Linked DNA regions of Homo sapiens: region 1 is linked to region 2. The links are contacts of gene promoters, found by promoter capture Hi-C in blood cells and fetal thymus (Javierre and others, 2016). All regions are on one chromosome and are shown on one strand. The core of a region is centred on a gene start or on the middle of the fragment in contact, and the rest is flanking DNA. Distances in the headings are between cores, read along the strand shown. Region 1 overlaps PHF21A (PHD finger protein 21A). Region 2 holds the start of LINC02716 (long intergenic non-protein coding RNA 2716).

What was found. The method cuts DNA at HindIII sites, captures the fragments that hold promoters and counts their contacts. A CHiCAGO score of 5 or more calls a contact.
Region 1: a contact is called between a fragment that was not itself captured here and the fragment with the promoter of LINC02716 in region 2, in 1 of 17 cell types (naive B cells). The highest score is 5.5, in naive B cells.

What each region holds. Positions count from the first base shown.
Region 1 is chr11:45,999,285-46,006,306 of GRCh38, reverse strand. All of the region lies in intron 6 of PHF21A (PHD finger protein 21A), which reads left to right. Among named protein-coding and RNA genes, the nearest start is that of LARGE2, 80 kb to the right of the region's middle. RefSeq lists an enhancer at 4,964-5,586. The HindIII fragment of the contact is 4,227 bases long and covers 2,530-6,756 here.
Region 2 is chr11:45,766,416-45,773,428 of GRCh38, reverse strand. It overlaps LINC02716 (long intergenic non-protein coding RNA 2716), which reads right to left and starts at 1,997. Exons shown (of 2, transcript NR_027134.1): 1 at 1,715-1,997; 2 at 1,071-1,436. RefSeq lists an enhancer at 1,804-2,305. The HindIII fragment of the contact is 20,811 bases long and covers 1-6,668 here.

The sequences.
Region 1 (7,022 bases), core at 3,394-5,893, 230 kb before region 2:
ATGGTTTTTTGCCCTATTAAAATAATTCTTGTTTGGGCTTCTGGAAGCATTGGAAAACAAATGAAAATTGGGAGTACACATTTTTTAAAGCATGAAGTTTATAACATTTAATTTTAAAATCATTTGGCTCTTATTTATAGGAACTATGTCAACAGTGATCTACTTGTCAGTTAATCTGGTTCTTTAATCGTAAATGTAAAATAACAGTGAACATCCTAATTCTTTAATTCTCTCTTGTCTGAATTTGAATTATTTTTTATCTACAAAGACTGTTTTATATTAGACCAGCCCATTTTCAAAGTTTAAAATTGTGCTTTTCCACAGGCATTTGTAGGCTCCAAATAAACTTTTAAAATTGTATGTTTTATTTTTCTTACTGTTCTTGAGAGTTCTGAAGTTGAAGTTTTTTAAAGAAATGAATACGATTCACATGCAAAAAAAGCATTTCCACATTTCATTAGAAGTGTTTCTTTTTTCTTTATGATCAGATTCATACAGCTAGAGTAAATTGTTTCAGAATTGGTGGGATGATCCGTCTTGAGCTATGGAAGCTTAATTGTGCTACAAATATTATTCTTTTATTCATTGCTCATAGGGAGTAAGTAGTTGGTGCTGATGGTTCCCCTAATGTTTATTTAACTATTCCAGTATAAGGCAGTTCACATTTCTTAGTAAAAGGATCGTTGATAGTTTCATTTACCTAGTATGTAATAAAAAGCTGAGAATAATCAGGGGCATTTGCTAATGGAGTCAAAATAACCTGTTTTATAAGTCAGAACAGGAAGGTCTGAACATTTGGTGCCCATTAATTAAGTTAATATTGCAAATGAGGTTTTTGCTTTTCTTATTATCTTGAAACCTTCAACCAGAAAAAGCAACTGCCTAAGATTATTTGGTATATACAAGGCGTTAATATATTGTGCAAATATTCTACAGTCTGAAAAATCTCAAAATCTGAAACACTTCTGGTCCCAAGCATAAATTTGTATAAATTTTATACAATATTTTACATCATTTTGTACATGAAACAAAGTTTTGACTGCATGTTGACTATGATCTATCACTTGAGGTCAGGTGTGAAGTTTTCCAGTTGTGGCATCACGTCAGTGCTCAAAAAGTTTTGGATTTTGGAGCATTTTGGATTTCAGATTTTTCAGATTAAAGATGCTCAACCTGAATTTTTGGACTGCGGTTGCTCTTGGTAACTGAGCCTGCAGAAAGTGAAATTACTGATGTGGGGGACTGCTGTATTAGTTGGGTGTATACATGCATGTGTTAAAATTTAACTGCATAATCTCATTTTCCATATTCAGAGACATTTGCAGTAAGAGACAAATATTATTGTAAAGGGAAAAAGTAAACTTTGTTGTGTAGTGCTTATCTGTTTCCCTGTGTTTTTTCTTGAGGGTAGCCATGATAAAGAAGGGGAATAAATTTCGAACACATGTAAGTATGTGTGTAGTGAATGGGAGAGAGGGAGAGATGGTATTTTCAGGAGGCATAAACTGTATTTTACAAAGACATCTTTTAGATGATGAGTCCTTTAGTCTTGAGGAGACAGTTCAATGGAAAGCATTCTAGGCCTGGCAGATACAGCCCTCATCCACAGTAAAAGTTAAGTGCTATGAAAAAGTAATAGTCTGTGCTATGCAAACCAATATGAAGAAAAGTGAGTTTTTGTTTGATAAGAGGTCAAATGAGCACAGTTCTTTAAAACTTTTATGTTGAAGAAAAGAATAGAGAATATTCTGTCATAGCTACTGATAAAATATTTCAGTTTATGAAATATTGTCACTTACATGTTTTAAGTAGCTTTTAATATAATCTTAGAACAAGGACTTCCTTCTCTCCTCTACCCCTTCCCTACTCCCCAGTGTCTCTTATTTCTTATCTATTAAAAGTGAAATCCATTTCCTTTGGTCAAAAGTACAAGTTTTTTACAGTGTCCAAGACATCTCAAATTGATTCACTTTGTTATATAGAAAACACCATCTGTGATGTCAGACCATTTCTTAGAAAATTGACTGTTAAGAGCTCTTTTGCATTGAGTTATTTGGTTTTTATGAAGATGAACATTGGATGAAATTTCTTACCAGTATGCATAATTCAATGATTTTAAGAATCTATGGAAAATAAATTTAAACATTTTTAAATGAAATGGGATAAGAAAAAGGGGAGACAGGATTTTATTCATTGGTATATCTTTTTAATTTTCTACTTTGTGACTCCGTTTAAAAAAACCAACTCTGTAATTTTGAAGCAGAGATTCTGAAATTACCACTTTTCTAAAAATATCACTTACAGCTGAAACTTAATATATTGAAGCATTTTTGTTCTGAGGATGATACATATTTTCATAAAGATGTATTTCCAAATGGAAACAGCACTGAAGCTTCTGAAATAGGGAACCTTTCCAAAATAGGCTGTGGTTGCCTGGGTGAAGAATATTAGGTTGCAACACTCAAAAAGGAAATCCTGGCATAGGAAGCAATTGATGAAGGGCAAATGTCTGCAGAGTGTAATGAAGCTTTTAAAAGCACTTGTGTGGGCCTGCATGCAAGGCCTTGCCAGTACTTTTCAAATTAAAATTCATGTGCTCTGTAGTGTGCTGAGCCATACTCATACTTCCATCTTTACTTCTCTTCTACATAATATATCATTCTTATTTTTAATCTTCTATAAGTACTAGTCATCATCCTAGTGAGAATTGTAGCGTTTTCTCACTCTGCCCTTCGTGAAAATGTCATCATCATTATGGGCAGCAGGGCAGCTTTATGGTGTTTTAAAAATCAAGTTCATCAGCATTTTTAAGCTATCAATTTCTTGTTTTAGTGTCATTAGTACTATGAATATTGAATATTTTATGACTCTTTAGTTTTATAAAATATTTTTTTCTTTTAGCAGTGGGGGAGAGGATAGGTATTATCCTCATTTTGTAACAGTATTAACACCGAAGAGAGTCTGAGTGATGACTAGACACATAGATGGTGTGAAAAGAAAACTTGGCATTTTTTTTTTTTTTTGAATGTTAGCCTTTAACCCAAGCTCTTTCCTCCATACACTATATGCACAAAGTTTTTAGGACTTTTTTTAGTGGCACTCTCATATACAGATTTTCTTTTCAAAGCAAGAAATAATCTGAGCTTTAAAAAGATTCTATTGAGGAAATTATTCTACTCCTGTTTTTATAGTCTCAGAATGTCTCAAGATAATTTTAAATGGGTTTGTGCTATTTGGGGGAGAAGAGAAAGTCACAGAAACTTACCTGATTTTGCAAATCCAAAACAGTTAGAAATCATAGTATTCAATCTTTAGAAAAATTTCTGTAGCAGATATTTATCCAATTAATTCATTTTATTTGAATTCATTTAATTTGAGCTGTGTTTTAAGTAAAAAGGTATCAATGATCTACTTAATGTTAAATACATTGGGTGTTTTTTTGTTTTGCTTTGTTCTAGAGACTTTTTTTTTCATTACAAATTTCGGCCTTGGGGAAGAAGGGTCTTTTGAATAAAGATAAAACTAGTTCTGTGGAGGGGTTTGAGGGGGTGCCTCTAAATTCCCTGAAATGTGTGCAAAATTGTTTTATATGTTTGCACACATAGGACATTTTACGGGGACAGAGTCCAAAGTTCTTCATTATATCCCTTAAAGGTGTATATGACATCCCCTTTATCTAATGGTAATATCTGTGACGTAAATAAGTTCCCTTATGAAGTTTGAATATACAGCACTTTCTGCCCTTAAATGAAAAAGGCCATGTGTGAATTCCTTTTTTTTTCCCCCAAATAGTGCTTTCAAAAGCCCAGAAGTATTTGCTGAGGGTGGTTCTCAAATAAATCATCATTTATAAATGGAAAGAGATATGGTAGGTTATTATTGGAAAGTTAATAAATTTTACAAATTGTAGTAAAGTTACAAATTAGTTTATTTCTGAAGCATTAGCCATTCCACAAATATTTTGAGGACTATGCATTCTAGTTATGAAGGCCAAATATAGTAACAAATGGTGAGGATGGAGCAAAAGAAAAAGTTGCCCAAAGGAGCTCAACCCACCATTAAAACCTAGCCCAGTGTGCCAGATTATAATGATGTAAATCACTAATGAATATCATGTTATTTGTAAGGGAGTGTTTAAAAACATTAAGTGAAGTAGTAATTTTTCAGTAGTCTAAATTTTAATGAAAGCATTTACTTATGTAAATTGGAGCTTTATTTTTATATATTAGTTTTACTGTTTTGTTTTCACTAAAAATAGTCACTCTTTTCTTTATATTTTCTCATGAAATCCTTCCGAACCACTTCTAGAAATGGCATCGTCTTGCCATAAGTATTTTGTTTTCTCCCCATCTAGTTTTTATGAAGTAGTGCTAACTCTGCCTTAATTTGATTTGGCATCCCTGCAATTGAACATTTGTAAGTATCTTGTATTATGGCCCATCTGGGTTGTCATAGAAACCAAAGACCTCCATCCTCTTCCCTCTAGTTAAAAATGGAATGCAAACAGGGCTTCAAAGTGACGTTTTTCTAGTACGAGTGACAGCCCTGTGAAGTGCAGAACAGAAAGGTTTCTTATTGGTTTTATTCTCCCATGGCCTATCATACCAGTTAACTCTGATGCACACAGCCTTTCTCTTGAAAATCTGGCAAGATACTAATGGAATTTTAAAAATGTAAGCATGGGGGAAAAGAATGTAGTTAATCCTTTTCCTGTTCTTTTCTTATACAAAAATTCAGTGTTAGCTAGCAGTGTTTTTGTTTTCCTCCCTATGTTATTAGGTGGTCTGTTGATGCTGTGGTGCATGTGACGGAGACACCAACTGGAGCTTCTATTGTTAGTCTTGTTATTTATTTCCTAGGTTATATCAATGTGGGCTTATCTCATTAGAATCTACAGGTGCATTGGCTAAGTACATGGCAATACTTTATCGGAATAGAAATTTGTTGATAACAGTGATATCTAGTGTGCTGTCAATGGACCTGGTGACAGAACATCTTAGAGCCCCATTTCCAGCCCCCCTGGTGGTCACAGAACCTTTGACTTAACCTTGATGGTTTTTCAGTTTCCACATTCCCTTCAGATTCTCTACCAGAACCATACATGGCTTTAAGTTTTTCTTCTTAGACTTCTGTGATGTTTCTGCTTCTGAAGCAGCTATGTTAGTAAGTTCCAGTGAATTATTTCAGTTGTGTTAGCAAAATGTCTGATTTTATGGTTAAGATATGTTGAGCTATTGCTGTAGCATTACTTAGAGTTTAGAGTGTCACATTCTTATTTTAACATAGGTTTTGAATATAGAAGATGACACAGTGACCTCTGAACGTGAAACAATGAAAAAGTGACATATAAATTTATTTATTTATTTATTTATTTATTTATTTTTTTGAGACGGAGGTTCACTTTTGTTGCCCAGGCTGGAGTGCAATGGTGCGATCTTGGCTCACTGCAACCTCCATCTCCTGGGTTCAAGCGATCCTCCTGCCTCAGCCTCCCAAGTAGCTGGGATTACAGGCACCCACCACCACACCTGGCTAATTTTTGTATTTTTAGTAGAGATGGGGTTTCACCCTATTGGCCAGGCTGGTCTCTAACTCCAAACCTCAGGTGATCTGCCTGCCTCAGCCTCCCAAAGTACTGGGATTACAGACGTGAGACACCATGCCCAGCCATAAATTTATATCTTAATAGGAATGTTTCAGAGGGGTTGGATTAAAATCATTAGACAATTGAATTTGACAGATCATTGGTCAATTTTAAGTGTCTTTACAACTTTTCAAAAGAAAAACGTTATAGAGTCTTTAAAGCTGTTTAAAATTATTCACCATTTGACTGTTACCTAGTTTCTGGTAATTGTGTACTTGTCTTTAGTCCCATATCGCAGCTAATGGTCATTTTCAGCAGTGAATTCAGAAGTGCTATGAGTACTATCATATCTTGATGAGAGAGATCCTGCAACTCTCAGTAGAGTATGAAGAAGTAGTGCTTAGCTTCTGTTACAGCTAGAGGTGAGAGAATATATTTTCTAAATAACACTGTATTCCTTGGCATATAGTGTAGAAGTGAATAATTTGTTTGCATAGCATAGTGAGGGAAATAGTGTAGCAGTTTCTTCGTGCTAAATATGTTGGTTTCTTCTCTATAGTTTGCTGCCTTCACTAACAATTTGACTGGTACTATTGTGTTGTCTTATTTTGCTTACACCTATCAAGCAGTTAAAAGGGCTAATGTACTGTCCTCAGCTCTCTAGTCAATCGAAAAATTAGAATCTCCCCTAGATCATTATTTTTACTTATCAATGTTGTTTAAAAAGACTAGAGATGTTGCTGGTTGTTTAGTAAATGTCATGTTGCAGCCTTGCAGAATATTGCGACTTTCTCTTAGCACAGAGGATAAGACAAGCCTTCCTGTTCACCACTGCTATGCCTCATCCTCAAGAGAAAAGTTACGATGTTTCTATATACTGGAGGCAGTAGGTGCTTGAACAAAATGAAACATGATGAATTTCTCACCCACTGGGATACATAAATTCTCATGTAGGTATCAGTCCCTTATCATCTCTGTGCTTTGTCATCACTAAATAAGTAACATAATATTTGGTCCTTTCAAATCTGTGTTTTTAGATGTATTTCTGCATGTTATTGACATTGTTCTTCCTCTTCTAACCCACTAATCCATTAAATATTCAGCTCCTCCTAAATTATACATTTTTTGTCCTCTATAGATATATTTTTAAATTTCCCTTCTCAAAATAAGCTTGCATTTTGAAGTACATTTGTTAGAAACAAGGTAGAATAATTCTACTTTCTAGTCTCAAGGAACAGTCTTCTAAATGTAAAGAATAGAACCTGGTGGAAGTATATACTATGTGCTATTTCACTGGGTACATATTAGTTTATCTGTTTAGAGACCTATAATCAACCACTAGCAGGGAAACTTGCCTTACTCCATTTCTGCAAAGTAATAATTTTTAATTATTATTGATAGACCAAGTTTTATTTTTAATCTCAAAAAAGTTTCCTTG
Region 2 (7,013 bases), core at 748-3,247:
CAAAAAGGTCCCTGTGTAAGTATGAGGTGGGTGGCTGAGATTTCTGAAATCCGTATCTGAGATGACTAGGTGGAGTCATACATTTCCACCCTTCTGGGGTTAAGGACACAGCCTTAACCATTTAGGGTGACCATTTAGGGTGAAGTCACTGTTTATGGGAGTCTAAACTGTGACTTTGGCAAGGTGCAATATAAAAATGCTAATACATGTTTATGCACTAAGCTGGAAATAATGCCAAGCCCCTCAGTTAAAAAAAAACCTGTCAAGAATTGCAGTTTCCTTGAGTCGGAGGAACTAAGTGAGCTGTTAAATGAGGACTGTAAACCTGCCACATGGCGACGTTGCTTTGGTTATTAAATAGAAATACCTGCTTTCTATATGCATGCACTGTTGTTTACATGCCTCTGAATTTCTAATTTCTGCAGGAGATTCTGGTGACTGGTGTGCCATTTTCTCAATGTTCACAGTTATTATAACTTTAAATATTTTACCCATATCCTGTAACAATGTCATCCAAGTGTTCTTTAAGTGGTGGTGCTGAAAAACGCACCTGAAAATCGATAACATTGGAAAGGAAGTGAGATGTGATAAAACGTTATGAAGAAGGCCAAACCACCGGCAGGAAATGCTGCACTGTTAATTTAGCAGAGAGTGCGTTATGAAATATTAGCGATAATGCCAGGGAAATAAAAAGCAGCATTAAGGCAAAAATATGCCACAATTGGAGTAATGTATGCAACCTATCCTTTCTACTTTGCATTCATTTCTCTGGCAAAATTAGTCAGAAATTATGCACGCTTTGAATTATGCAAGTTTTTCAGGACCACATGCTTTGCATAAAACTCTACTGCCCTGAGGTTCTCAGTGGGTGGAAGAATGAGTGACCATATTCTAGGGTTATCTTAGGCCAGGCCGTTGTACCCTCCTGTCCTAGGTGGGGATGAAGTGACCTCATGTGTAAAATGGGACCGTTGGACTGGCTTGTCTTTCTTTCCTTATTAGACTATGTCGAGACAGGCACCATTATATTTCTGCCCCAAAGGTGTCTTTTTCTGGACGGATCCCACAGCTGATACCAAACTTGTCTTTATTAACTGTGAGGCTGGCCATTCAAACACCAGGTGCCAGAGAGGGTCCCTCACTCATCGGAATCCGGGTGGGATGAATCCTCGGAGGCAAGGTCCCTCCACCTTCACCCTAGAGTCACACAGAGACTTGCCCTGGCGGCTGGTGACAGGTGGGCGGGAGAAGAAAAGGCCCCTGGGGAGCAGGAGAAAGCCAGGTGCCATGGGGACCCAGCGCCGCTGGAGGGCAGCACCAGCACACAGCTGAGGCCGCCTCTCCCGGAGCCCGGAGGGAGCTGGGTTCCGGTCGCCAGCGGTGCCCGGGTGAGCAGTTCACCCTCACGTCCCTGCTCTGACGAAGTTTCCATTCTTCTGGAGAAGACAAAATAAACGTGAACAAATGAACAAGTGTGCATTGTCAGGCAGCAAGTGTTGGTACAAACAAGATAGTGGTGGGGGTGGGGACACCGTTAAATAGGGGCCAGGGAGGCCTAACCCGGGAGGGGATAGCTGAGATGCCACTTGAGTGGAGAAAACAGTCCGAGATCTGAAGGTGTTCATGGAGAGGGGAAGGGGCCCCTAGAGGAGTCGGGAAAGCCTGGGTCAGGGAAGACGAGAAAACTGAGGAACAGAGAAGCCAGGTAACTTACCCAGGGTCATAGAGCCGGTGAGCTGGGGACAGCGCCTGTCAACGCCCCAGAGCCTTCCACGGCACTGGTTTCTCCGACCTTCCTCTCTAAACAGGACCGTGACAGTGACAGTTTCTGCCCCACTCCCCATTTCTGACCGCAGTCCCCATAAGGAAACAGGGCAGGGATCACTGGCTGTGAGCCCAGCAAGTCCCCTCCCGTGGCTTTCTCAGTTATTAAATGGAAGGGTGGGTCCCCCCATAACTCCGAAGCTCCCCTCTCTAAGCGTCCGCGGGCCGGGAACGCCTGAATTCTGGCTCCCGAGCACCTTCTTGTGGACAGTTTTGGAATCACACGCTCAGCGAGAAAGGGTCGTGGGAAAATGGTCTGTGCTAATTTCGGAGAGGCCAGTGGATTGGAAGGTTATCACTGAGGGTGGGTGCACGTGTGTGTGTGTGTGCGCGCACGTGCATGCGTGCATGCATCTGTGTGCCTGTGTGTGTTGGTCTGTGTGTGAATGTACCTCTGTGCGTATCTGTGTGTATGGTTGTGTGTGAGCACATACTGCCCGAGCCTGTGTGTGTGTGAGTGTGTGTGTGCACTAATGTTTGTTTATATGGGCACAGGCACACACATGTCCATGTCCATGTGTGTGTACCTGCATCTGTATTTTTTCGTCTGGTGTATGGGCTTGTTTTTGTGTGCCTGCATGCATGTGCCCATGTGCGTGTGTGTTTTGGGAACTGGGACACAGAGGATGATATGAGAAGTCCCCAGTCTTTCTCACAAAGGCCTAACCACTCTCCCTGAAGCCAGCTTTCTCCCCTACTTGCTTCTGTCTGCACCATCACCTGAGTTCTCCCACCTGAACTTTTCACCGACATTTTTGATGATTTTTCTGTTTTGTGTCCGTTGAGGCTCATTTGAATGTTACAGATCATAGCTCAAGAAATGATTCTCAGGCCGGGCATGGTGGCTCATGCCTGTAATCCCAGCACTTTGGGAGGCTGAGGCAGGTGGATCGTCTGAGGTCAAGAGTTCAAGACCAGCCTGGCTAACATGGTGAAACCCCGTTTCTACTAATAATAACAAATTAGCCAGGTGTGGTGGCGTGTGCCTGTAATCCCAGCTACTCGGGGGGCTGAGGCAGGAGAATCACTGGAACCGGTGAGGCAGAGGTTGCAGTGAGCTGAGATCCCTGGGTGACACAGCGAGACTCCGTCTAAAAAAAAAGAAAGAAAGAAGTGATTCTCCTCTAGTCTACTCACCCAAATCATGAGTTTCACTTCTCAGGTGGGCTGATCACCCACTGTCCTGTTGAGACCTGGGGACTTGTACAAAGTCGTACCCTGGAGGGTTGAGCAGAAAACCAGGCACATAGTAACTAAGACAATGGCGCGTTAGCAAAGCACTCCACACATCCCGTTCACATGTGTGTCTTACTTGACTCACAAACTGATCTTTCATCCTTTTTTTTTTCCTTTTTTGTGGTGAACAGGGTCTTGCTATATTGCCCAGGCAGGTCTCAAACTACCGGCTGATCTTTCAAGCCTAGGCAAGGTGAGGCTAATTATTCCCATTTTACAGATGAAGACACTGAGGCTCAGAGAGGGAAATAATGAAAATAGTACTGCAGGAACCATCTAACCAATATGCAAACTCTCTCATCCAGTTTTCATAACATCATCAATTCCCTTCTTTAAAAGACAAGGAGATGGAGGCTTTAAAAATGTAAGGCGAGTGCTTAATGCCATATAGCCAATCAGTAGTTGAGGCAGGATTTGAATCTCGCTCCAGAGATTAAAGCCCAAGTCCTAAACACAATGGCAGGCGTGAGGGCCCTGGGCACACACTGACTCAAGCTCTTTCAGCCACACACTGTCCCTTTGCCATGCCTCTGGGGTCCTAAGAACATCCTCCTCTGAGCCCACAGGGAGGTCATTCCCCATCCTGGGTGCCCCTGCTCCTCTCCCAGATGCGGGGCAGGTGAATCTTGTAACCTGTGTCACTCTCAGAGGCTGAGATGGGGACTGAGCATTAATTATGCAATAACCTCGCTGTGGTGTGCCTAATTGTCTGATAACCATAATTGAATCTTATGGATTACACCAACATTATTGCAGGGAGCAGCTTAAGGCAGTTAACAGAAGCTGCACTCACTTTGTGATATCTTCCTCCTGTCTCCTTGCTGGCTGGGCTGTGAGTCCTTTCCTGGGGGCTGAGGGAGGCCTCGAGGTGCAGGGGGCAGGCAGGAGGTGAGTGACAGCACAAATGTCGCATCACCTTATCCCCCCGAGGGCACCATCTTCCTGGCTGAGAAAAGTCTGTGTGGCAGGTGGAATTATCATTTTGTAAATGAGAATGTGGCATCAGAAGGCTGAGAGACTCTCCCAATTTCAGTCTTGCTCATTGCTACTGGTCCTTGCTAGCATCATCTGGGACTGTTTAGACGTGCAGCATCTCAGCTGGGCTCGGTGGCTCACGCTTGTAATCCCAGCACTTTGGGAGGCCAAGGCGTGTGGATCATGAGATCAGGAGTTTGAGACCAGCCTGACCAACATGGTGAAACCCCGTCTCTAAAAATTAGCTGGGCATGGTGGTGCGTGCCTGTAATCCCAGCTACTCAGGAGGCTGAGGTAGGAGAATTGCTGAACCTGGGAGGCGGAGGTTGCACTGAGCCGAGATCACGCCACTGTACTCCAGCCTGCGTGACAGAGCAAGACTCCGTCTCAAAAAAAAAAAAAAAAAAAAAGAAATGCAGCATCTCAGGCCCCACCCTGGACCTACTGAATCAGAAGCTGCATTATTTTTTATTAAATGAATTTTTTTTCTTTAAAGAGATGAGATTTTGCTCTGTCTTCCAGGCTGGAGTGCAGTGGTGCGATTGTGGCTTGCTGCAGCCTCGAACTCCTGGGCTTGAGAGATCCTCCAGCCTCAGCCTCCCTAGTAGCTGGGACTACAGTCGGAGCCACCATGCCTGGCTCTCAGAATCTGCATTGTAATAGCATCTCAGGTGATTTATTTTCACGTTGCCGTTTGCTGAGTGCTGGTTTATGTAATTATTTATTCATTGCCTATGTGGGATCCATTGCCCTTTCTTGTGTCAGCAACACCTTGACTTCCATTTGGGAAATAACCCTTCTTCCCATATGGGAGACCCCTAGCTGTACCCTTACTCCTACCTCCCTCAGGCATTGACCCCAGGCCAGGCCAATGAGTCAGTTCCAAGATCTTTGAGGCACTGTTGAGGAAGACGTGTTTGATGGAGTTTTGCTGAGGCTTCTTCATTCCCTCCCTCCCTTGCATGGTTCACTGTGGGTGAATATTCTTCCCCACACCATCCATGGTGAGCTCAGCCACTGACTTGCTTTGGTCAATGGAATGTCGGTAGAAGTGATGATGTGTGGGTTCCAAGCTAGGCCTTAAAGAAGTATCTTGTGTTTCCGCTTGCCCCTCTAGAGCTCCTGCCCACCATGAGAAAGGAAGGTACACCCAGGCGACCATGGCACCTTCATCTGGAGTCCAGGATGGAGACTGTGGGGCAAATTGAACCTAACCAGAGACTGGAGTCCAGCCTAACTCTGATATTAACAACCCCCCAACTAACCTGCAGACCCATGAGTATGAAAGGAATGGTTGTTATAAGCAACTGAGATTTTCAGAGTGCTTGTTGCATGGCATTGGTGCAGCAGACACCTGACTGGTATAAAAGACATACTTTCTTTCCAGGGGGATTGCTAAGCTGAATTTGGATTTTAGGTGTTATCTTGTCACTAGGAAAGCAGGGCCTGCCTAAGGGCAAAACCAACCCAGAGGGAAATGGAGCTGAGATAGGATGAGAGCCCTGATCATGATGACAGCCTTTGTTTTCATGGATCCAGCCTCACAGGAGTTAGTCAACTCTTTCAGTCTCAAGGAGTAGAGAGCTGAAACTTCGCTGGCTTAAACCCAAGAAGGAATTAGCGGCTCACATAGCTCAGAAGTCTGGAGGTGATGTGGGTTTCAGGTGAGGCTTGAATCAGTAGCCCCTGGACCAGTGTCCTTGTCTCTCCACTCTGGGTCCCATTTTGCTGGTTTCATCTGGAGGCTGGCTCCCCTTTGTGATATCGTAAAATACATATTGAGTTGTTGTCCACATTTCCTGGCATGTTACTCCTAAAATCTATGGAATCTCCAAAGTGGTAAGTGTCTTTTTGTATGCTAATGAGTTGACAGTTGGCTGGCAGCCCCTAGGTAGCTTGAGGATGGGGGCTACTCCAGAAAGTTCAAGGCAGGATTAGAGGACTGGGGCTTTCAGCCCCACTCCCATTCTCTCTTAGAGGGGAGAGGGGCTGGAAGTTACGTTGATCACCAATGGCCGATGGCTTAATCAATCACGCCTGTGTAATGAAGCCTCCATAAAAACCCTGAAGGACAGGGTCTGGAGAGCTTCTGGACAGCTGGACACACGGGGCTCCTGGAGGATGGCGCTCTGCTCCCCCATACCTTGCCCTATGCATTGCCCATCTGTGTCCTCTGTGGTATCCTTTATAATAAGTGAGTCAACGTGTTTCCCTGAGTTCTGTGAGCTGCTCTAGCAAATTAATCCAACCAATGAGGGGATTGTGGGAACCTCAATTATAGTCAGTTGGTCAGAAGCACAGCTAAAATACTCTGGGACTTGTGATTGGCATCGGGAGAAGGGGAGCATCTTGGGGACTGAGTCCTTAGCCTGTGGAACCTGACGCTATCTCCAGGTGGGGAAGTGAACTGAATTAGAGGACACCGAACTGGTGTCTGCTGCGTAATTGATTGCTTGCTTACTATGTGGGAACGCCTCCCCAAACACCCATCTGGTGTAAGAAGCCCACTGTGAGTGTATAGTGGGAGAAACAGTCTGCTTATCCATGTATTCTCAGACCCTCATTGGAGCACGATGGCGTCCTTGTTCGGGTCTAACAGGAGAGAGAGTGTTTGTTCTGGAAGCGAGGAAGCTTCTTTCTCAGGAGCTGGCAGCAAATGTCTCAGGTCTCATGGCCTCAGGTCAGGTCACATACCGTCCCTGCACCAATCTCAGAGGCTGGAGACAGAATGTGCTGATGGGCCAAGGCTGGCTGGCTGGGGGGCAGGTTAGTGTCACTGAACAGCACAGAGCCTCAAGAGAAATAGGGCTTGGCCTGAGGAGAGGTGTTGGGGATGCTGGCTGGGAAGACGCAGGAGTTCCCTATTGCTGCTGTAAAACAGCATCACAAACGTGGGGGCTTAAAGCAACAAACATTTATTCTCTCACTTTTTTTTTTTTTTAGATGAAGTCTTGCTTTGTCGCCCAGACTGGAGTGCA